3 separate regions of the Homo sapiens genome follow, and all the other regions are linked to region 2. The links are contacts of gene promoters, found by promoter capture Hi-C in blood cells and fetal thymus (Javierre and others, 2016). All regions are on one chromosome and are shown on one strand. The core of a region is centred on a gene start or on the middle of the fragment in contact, and the rest is flanking DNA. Distances in the headings are between cores, read along the strand shown. Region 1 overlaps PPP1R3D (protein phosphatase 1 regulatory subunit 3D). Region 2 holds the start of CRNKL1 (crooked neck pre-mRNA splicing factor 1). Region 3 holds the start of LOC124904905 (a long non-coding RNA gene).

Region 1 (2,700 bases), core at 117-2,616, about 40 Mb before region 2:
AATTCTGATTTCATGTATTTCTCTGTACATGTTTGATCATTATCAGGCCATTCTGTTTAAGTTTGAAACTAAGCATTTTAAGAAGTCTTGCCTCAGTTATTTCAGTTTTCAGGTGACTAGAGAATTTCAGGCAACAGTGCCCTTTGCAATTACCTTTTTGATGATTAAGGTGACTATTTTTATTTCTTGTTAAGCATCAGAAGATGTCAGCATTCATCTTTTGGGAGTCCAGTTACAAGGTGGAACTAGAAGGTGTTTTCAGCAATAGCCAGAGCACTGGAGGAAAAATAATTGACAAATATTTATACTTTTAAATTGTTTTGAACTGTATTTACATACATCATGTTTTATCAGGTACCCACCAACTTTATACTTTCTGCCTTCAGATAGAGTTTCTAACATTTTCTAGTTTGTCAGTTTTAAAATATAAAATTCTTTTATGTTTTTAAACCGTCAACCAAGAAGTCAAGACCACTGTCCCCTGCTGAGTTAGGCAATCACTTAAAACTCCAAAGAACTCCAGGCTGAGGAGTTCTTTTGGTGCTGAACAGTGGTCTGACAACAGGTGCTAGAATTAAGGTGTGGGAAAAAAAAAAAAACAGCCAGGAAGGACAAGATCTCCAATTTGTGAAGCTTATGATACAGCTGAAACCAGTCTGATCAATTTTATGCTACCTGTCACCAAGAAATTAACTCTAAATTTTTGAATGCTTGTTGGCATCTGTCAAATCAATACTGAAAGGATGCATTTCGGCTTTTAACCAGTTTGGTTCTGATCATTGCAACCTCTGTGCTTTTATAATTCAAAGAACAAGGATAGCTTTCTTCGGTATCTTTTAATATAAGAACACTGAATTTTGGCTTGAAATATTGTGACTAAATTGCACAATCTCTGGCTATTAGCACTGTTCACTACATTAACATGCAAGAGAGAGAGAAGCCTTGTTACATTTCCTGCTATTTAACAAACTGTCCAATTAGGTCAGCAAGCCTGTTAGGGCCTTCACTGCTACGCCCCTGGCCCCAAAACAGAGAGCAAGACAGTTGTCCAGAGAATTTAGATATGAGTTAAGAGCTGCCAGATTTATTTTAAGGCATGTAGAGAATCTCATAATCTATGTGAAAGTCACTTGCCAAAAAGGTTTTGGTTATGAAAGTGAATGTTATATATTTAATATTAAGTGAACCTCCCGTGCCTTTTAAAAAATACCAACATTATGAAATTTAAAAGCTTAAATATATTTGCCTAGTTGATAAAGAGGCTGTGGAACAACTGAAGGAGAACTTTCAGACCCTAAAACAGTTATATTACTTAGATGTTAAAATTTTCTAGTGGGCTGTGCAATTGCTGGGTTGTCCCCCCAAACATATTTTAATATGTTATTTAAAATGATTTTACCCAAGCCTAAGTATTAAAGTATATGTGCAAAAACAGTTGTGAGCCATTCTATTATGCTTCAGTATGTTTTTCTTGTGGCCTAATTACAGAAGACCAAGCTTTAGAAACTTCTTGTCTAAATCATTTCACATGCAAGTCTTATCCTTTCTACAACACTGATAAACGTAGAGCCTTGGCAAAAATAAATTTTGTCATTGTGCCTCAGCGTCAGTAGCAGAGTTGTTGTATGTGTCTTTGAGAAAAGGAAATGCAATTTTATATGCCAGGTCAGCATGAGGTATGAAGAAAGCTCTAGGGGAATACAGGGAATGTGATCATTAATGTACTTCTCTTACAACAGTTAATGACACTGTGCAGGCAGTAATGAGTGTCTGTCTGTCTGCCTTCCGGATCGTGACCCTCACCTAAGTACAAAGTCTTGCACATGGGGGAAGAAAACTTACATTTATTTTGTCTTCCCTTATTTGCTTGGCCACAGTGCTAAGTGCTTTAAATATGTGATTTCATTTAATTCTGAATGTTATGCTACCTGGTAGACAATATCCCCTTTTTCTTAGCTGAAAATAAAGCTCAGAGTGGTGTAAGTACAGCCATAGGCCACATAACATTTCACTCAACAGGGTAACTGTATATATGACGTGGATCCATGGAATTATACCAGATTTTTTTCCGTATCTTTTCTGTGTTTAGATACACAAATACCCTTGTGTTACAGTTGTCTACCGTATTCACTGCAGTAACATGCTGTATACAGGTTTGCAGCCTTGAAGCAATAGACTGTACTATATATACCTGAGGTGTGTAGTAGGCTATACCATCTAGGTTTTTGTAAGTAAACGCTAAGATATTCACACAATAACAAAATTGCTTGAGGAGGACACCTTTCTCAGAACTTACCCCTATCATTAAGCAATACATAACTGTAATTCACCTAAAGTCCCATAGCTGGTAAGTAACAAATTGAACATTGAAACCTGTTTCAAAGTCAATGCTCTCTCTACCTGTTATATGACATATAGAATATTGCAAATAAATGCTTGTTGATTCAGAAAGCTAAATTAATTGAACGCCACATTATGATATTTCTCTTTTTTGAGAGAAGGTCTTGCCTTGTCACCAACGTTGGAGTGCAGTGGTGCAATCATAGCTCACTGCAGCCTCCAGCTCCTGGGCTCAAGCAGAATTCTCCTACCTCAGCCTCCGGCGTAGAGCAGCTAGGTGCACAGGCACATGCCACCACGCCTGGCTAATTTTGTTTTTTTGTAGAGATAGGGCCTAGCTATGTTGCCCAGGCTAGTTTC
Region 2 (2,700 bases), core at 105-2,604:
AAACATCTTTTTAATATTTATTTATTTTGTTAGGTGGCTTTATGAAAGTGATATAAAATCTTCTCTATTTAAATTTTGAAAAGTGAGATAAAATATCTAAATAATATGGTTAATAAAGAGTTATGGCAAATACATTGATGTTGGTTATAACTGACTGCAGTTCTAGAAATCTGCATAAATCTTTTGTTGAAAGTAATATCTGCATTGGTAGACGTGATATTACTACATACATAAATATATATTTTCCCCAAACACCAAAAGAGCTTTGCAACTGTGGAAATTATCCTAACAAATGAGCTGCCAAGTCATGTCATTATACATTTGTCCAACCTCATAGAATGTACACCAAGAGTGAACCCTAATATAAACTATGAACTTTGGGTGATAATGATGTGTCAATGTAGGTTCAAGATTGTAACAAATGTACTGCTCTGGTGGAGGATATTTTTAAGAGTTGGAGGCTGTTAGAGGAGGGAAGAGGTACAATAATTGATAGCAGGAAGCTGTGGAGGGAGGAAATCTCTGTGTCTTCCACTTAATTTTGTTGTGAACCTAAAACTTCTCTAAAAATGTCTATTAAAAAAAATTCTCTTAACCTTTGCTTTTCAGTTTTTGAGGGCAGGTTAAGTATTATAACAGCTAACATCTACTGAGCATTTGTCTTTAATCCTAGTGAAACAGATGTTATTAGCCTTGTTTTATAGTTGAGGACATTGAGGCTAAGAAAATTTAACTAGAGTAATTAAGGCACACACAGAATTTAAACATGTTTCTTATCACAAGACTGAGTTGTTTTCCAGTTACTCTATTTATATTTTTTCCTAATATCTGGCTTCAAAGTACCTTCTGTTATTTTTAATTCCAAGCCTTAGAGTTAATTATTTGGGCACCTTAGAATTATTTGGGCACAACTGTCCCGAAACCAGAAACGAGGGGGCGTGGACCCAGAGACTACTAGAATGCAATGCTCGAGGCATTGCAGCCTAAAAGGGCGGCAGCTCGCCCCGTCGCATGCTGGGAATGGTAGTTTCCTCGCTCTCCCTTCTTCCCCCGCCCTCGAGCATCCAGATTGGAGCTCCGTTCTTACTCCCTTGCAGGGCGCCACGGCTCGACAGAGCCACTCGTCCTCGCCTGGTCATCCCAGTTCCGGAGGCTGACCTGGGGATGCGCCCTGGACGCCCTGCACCGCAGTCCTTGCGTCGCTGCTAGTCAGCACGGCGTTACCCACCTCATCCGCAGCTCCAGGACGCCGCACTCCACGCGCTGCCGCAAGGAGGACGCGCAGCCTGGTCACCATGGAAACGGTGCCGCCTCCGTCACGGCTCAAGCGAGAGGTCAAAGGTCAGTCCTGCAAGTTCCGCTTCCGGTTCCGAGATCCTGTTTGTTTTCTGAAAGCTTTGTGGTTTCGGTGAGCTCTCAGAGCCGATTTCTAGCGTCCGTGCCGGGGACAGGTGTCCAGAGGTCGACTGCTGCAGACATGGCGGCCTCCACCGCGGCCGGGAAGCAGCGGATTCCCAAAGTGGCCAAGGTAGGCGATCGCGAGGGGCCTTGTAGGAGGTGGCCTAGGAAAGGGGCATCCCTCAGCCCTGAGGGTGCCCGGGTTGGGAGAGAGTGTTCCCGCCGGGGAGAAGGCTCACCCTGAGAGATGGAGAGGAAGGGCAGCTGGTGGTGGGGCGCGGGCTCTTGTCATCGCGGAGCACGACCCGCGTTGGCGTGGCCTTCGTTCTGGGGTGGTTTTGCTGGGGAGTGGAGTGGGGTGGTTCGGTGAAGATTTACTGAGCCAGGCACTGCACTGGGCGCTGGGAAGCTACGCTCGTACGCTGGCCACAAGCAGTACTCAAAACACGAGTTTCTGTATAAAGACGACCTTGCTAGATGTTACCGAGAGGCAAAGTAGAATATGCCATGGGCGTGAATAAGGGGGTCGTATGAAGGGGTCCTGAAAGTAAATTTTGCTGAGGAAATGACCTTTAAGCTGAGACTTGAAGGCTGAATAGGAGTTAGCCCAGCTGACAGCGGAGGGCGAGAGTAGACGGTAGGAGTAGTATAGTATCATAAGTTAATTAAACAGTAGACTTACTATCTGGTATTTCCTTTGATAGCTAATACTTACCAAGTGCTTAATATGTGGCAGACTTTGAAGCCTTTACAGATACCCTCCCTCCAGTCTTTCTTGAGCCCGGATGACTCTCTTGAACTGGACCTTTACATAACTATTTGTCTGACTCGCAGGAGTAATGCATATAGAGCAAGTAACACTGTGTCTGGCACTTAGTGCTTATTAAATATGAGCTATCACCATTATCATCATTACTCCACATGTGGCATTAAGTAACATTTTTTATAATTCAGCTACATAAACTTTTATTGGGCATCACTGGTCCAATGGAAATATAATGCACACCACATATGAAATTTTAAATTTTCTCATATCTACATTAAAAAGTAAAAACAAAGCAAAAAAGTGAAATTAATTTTGATAATATATATTTTATTTGAGCTAATGTATCCAAAATATTATCATTTCAACATGTAATCGGTATAAAAAATGTAATGAGGTAGTTTATTCTTTTTTATACTTCATCTTCAAAACCAATGTGTATTTTACACTTACAGTCCACCTCAATTTGTACTCACCACATGTGACTCATAGCTACTGTGTTGGACAGCACAGCTCTAAGCTACGTTAGACTGTAAGCT
Region 3 (2,700 bases), core at 154-2,653, about 22 Mb before region 2:
CCAATTACGAAGGTCTCTGAGCACTGTGCTGAGGAGTTTGAGCTAAAACTTGTAGGGGACACAAAGCCTCTAAAGGAAAGTCAAGTCATCATATTTGAGTACTGAAAATATTCCTATACTGCCAGTGTGGATATGGTTTAGAAGAGGCAAGACTAGGCTGGGTGCAGTGGCTCACACCTGTAATCCCAGCACTTTGGGAGGCCCGGCGGGTGGATCACCTGAGGTCAAGAGTTTGAGACCAGCCTGACCAACATGGAGAAACCCCGTCTCTACTAAAAATACAAAATTAGCCGGACGTGGTGGCGCATGCCTATAATCCCAGCTACTCATGAGGCTGAGGCAGGAGAATCGCTTGAACCTGGGAGGTGGAGGTTGCGGTGAGCCAAGATTGTGCCACTACACTCCAGCCTGGGCAACAAGAGTGAAACTCTGTCTCAAAAAAAAGAAAAGAAAAGAAGAGGCAAGACTGGTAAAAGGAAAGCCAGTCTCAATTTGTTCCACTCTCCCCTACTTCACTGTGTTCCAATCACAAGGGACTTCTCTGAGTTCCTTGAATTGCAAAACACCAAGCTCTTCCCCGCTCAGAGCCTTTGCACTTGCTGATCCCTCTGCCTGGACTACTCTTCTCTTGGCTGTTACACAGCTTCCTTCTTCTCAGCCTTCTTCAAGCATTTCAGACCAAACATTTCTTTCTTTCCCTAATCAATCTAATGTATCAATTTTCCTCCATTATTCTCTCTTGTAGCATCCTGGGGGTGGGGGTGTTCTATTTATCGCAATTTGACATTTTATTCTTATTTGTATTATGTGATCAGTAACTGTCTTCCCCATTAGGCTGTAAACACCATGAAGGTAAGGTTGTGTCTGCCCCTGTTCAACACCATGTCCCAGCACTCAACACACTGCCTGGCACGGTGCTAACACTCAATAAACACCGGATTTATGAGACTGTGAGTACAGCCGAGATGATCATGGCTTAACCAAGTAAGTAGCAGCAAACCTGGGAAAAAGAAACTAATGCTACACGAAGTAAACAGGATAGGTCTTGAGGCAGAATATGGCCTGGAGGCAGGGAACTTAAGGACTTGCTAGAATTAAATCAAATGAAACACTTCAGCTATGATAAGACACATCCTTTTTATTTATTTATTTATTATTTATTTGAGTCTTGTTCTGTCGCCCAGGCTGGAGTGCAACGGCGCGATCTCGGCTCACTGTGACCTCTGCCCGGTTCAAGTGATTCTCCTGCCTCAGCCACCAGGGGATTACAGGCGCATGCCACCACGCCCAGCTAATTTATTTTTATTTTTATTTTTAGTAGAGATGGGGTTTCACCATGCTGACCAGGCTGGTCTCGAATTCCTGACCTCAGGTGATCCGCCCGCCTTGGCCTCCCAAAGTGCTGGGATTACAGGTGTAAGCCACAACTCCCCGCCGAAATATCCTCTTTATTTACATAGGGCATACAATGCCTTTGTAACTTTTAACCTATTCATTTACATAAGGCATACACCAACTAACCAATGGAAACCTCTAGAGGGTATTTAACCCCCAGAAAATTCTATAACAGCGCTCGTGAGCCCCCATGCTCAGCCTGCTCCCACCCTGTGAAATGTACTTTCGTTTTCAATAAATCTCTGCTTTTGTTACTTCATTATTCCCTTGCTTTGTTTGTGCCGTTTTGTCCAATTATTTGTTCAAGACACCAAGAACCTGAACACCCTCCACTGGTAACAGTTTGAGACAAGTATCAGAATCAGTTCCACCTGTACCAAGTTCTAACGGCACTTCTAGCTGTATAGCCTGGGCAGGTCAACCACCTTTTATCCACCATGCTCTCCGTATTCCCCTCGTAAAATGATAACGACACCCTTGCAGCTTGGCTCAGCGAATGTCCTCAAACGCACAAACAACGCTAGGGCTAAATGAGCACACCCGGTAGAGCAGCAGCCGCTCCTCGAGGGCGGAAGTCACAGCCTGATCTAAGTACGGTGGGTAAAATGGATCCCCCATATGCGCAGCGCCATGGTCCTTTGTAACCTCATAAAGTGTCCGATGAGCAGCAGGGGCTGGAGGATAATTTAGGGCCAATATCATTTGTTTCTTTTACATTATTTCGCCATTTCTCAGAATTCTAAAATTTGTTTAATTGAAATATCAGCTTGAGGGATGCTGAAAACTGTACAGAGTAAAAGAAGAATCTCTGCTGAGGGATAACCAAGAGGTAGAGATGGGAAAACGTTCATGCGCAGCACCCCCTGACGGAAGGGAGGAGCTGGTGTGGAAGATCCGCGCAGCCCCGCCTCTTTCGCGGTGGTTCCAGTCCCACTTGGGACCCCCACGCCCCGGGAGTGCTAGCGGGACTCGGAGACCTTCACGTTACTACATTGCCCAGGGGACCCCGAGGCGGGCCTGGTTCTCCTCACAAAGGGAGGGGCCGAGCCGTGACTCGCTTCCTCGCCTCGAAATGCGGGTTGTTTTAATCGAGCAGGTTTCGCCCTTCCCCATCAGCCTGTGAAGCTCCCAAAAACGTCCGGCCAACGGCACCAGTCCCATCTAATCAGCCAGGAGGAAGTAGGCGCCGCAAAGCCCCCTGCGAAATGTAGTTTCCAGGAAGACTTCTGGGAAACAGAGTCCGAGGCAGGCGACAGAGCGCTCTTGCAGCCAAATAGAGCCGGGCTAGGGGCGCGTCACGTGACC

Evidence for each region. Contacts are between HindIII fragments. The CHiCAGO score rates a contact against its expected background, and 5 or more counts as called.
Region 1: a fragment that was not itself captured here is called in contact with the fragment with the promoter of CRNKL1 in region 2 in 1 of 17 cell types (activated CD4 T cells); the score reaches 5.2 in activated CD4 T cells.
Region 3: a contact is called between a fragment that was not itself captured here and the fragment with the promoter of CRNKL1 in region 2, in 1 of 17 cell types (total CD4 T cells). The highest score is 7.3, in total CD4 T cells.

What each region holds. Positions count from the first base shown.
Region 1 is chr20:59,935,566-59,938,265 of GRCh38, reverse strand. It overlaps PPP1R3D (protein phosphatase 1 regulatory subunit 3D), which reads left to right. Exons shown (of 1, transcript NM_006242.4): 1 at 1-1,603. It also overlaps a transcript of FAM217B not described here. Among named protein-coding and RNA genes, the nearest start is that of SYCP2, 3.3 kb to the right of the region's middle. The HindIII fragment of the contact is 266 bases long and covers 1,234-1,499 here.
Region 2 is chr20:20,051,120-20,053,819 of GRCh38, reverse strand. CRNKL1 (crooked neck pre-mRNA splicing factor 1) reads left to right here and starts at 1,354. Exons shown (of 14, transcript NM_001278628.2): 1 at 1,354-1,528. The coding sequence starts at 1,478. CFAP61 (cilia and flagella associated protein 61) reads right to left here and starts at 1,288. Exons shown (of 27, transcript NM_015585.4): 1 at 1,229-1,288. RefSeq lists a silencer at 880-929 and enhancers at 1,020-1,319, 1,330-1,499. The HindIII fragment of the contact is 2,238 bases long and covers 1-1,397 here.
Region 3 is chr20:41,692,860-41,695,559 of GRCh38, reverse strand. It overlaps LOC124904905 (a long non-coding RNA gene), which reads left to right and starts at 1,385. Exons shown (of 2, transcript XR_007067588.1): 1 at 1,385-2,224; 2 at 2,492-2,700. RefSeq lists enhancers at 1,561-1,800, 2,021-2,240, 2,381-2,590. The HindIII fragment of the contact is 6,795 bases long and covers 1-2,700 here.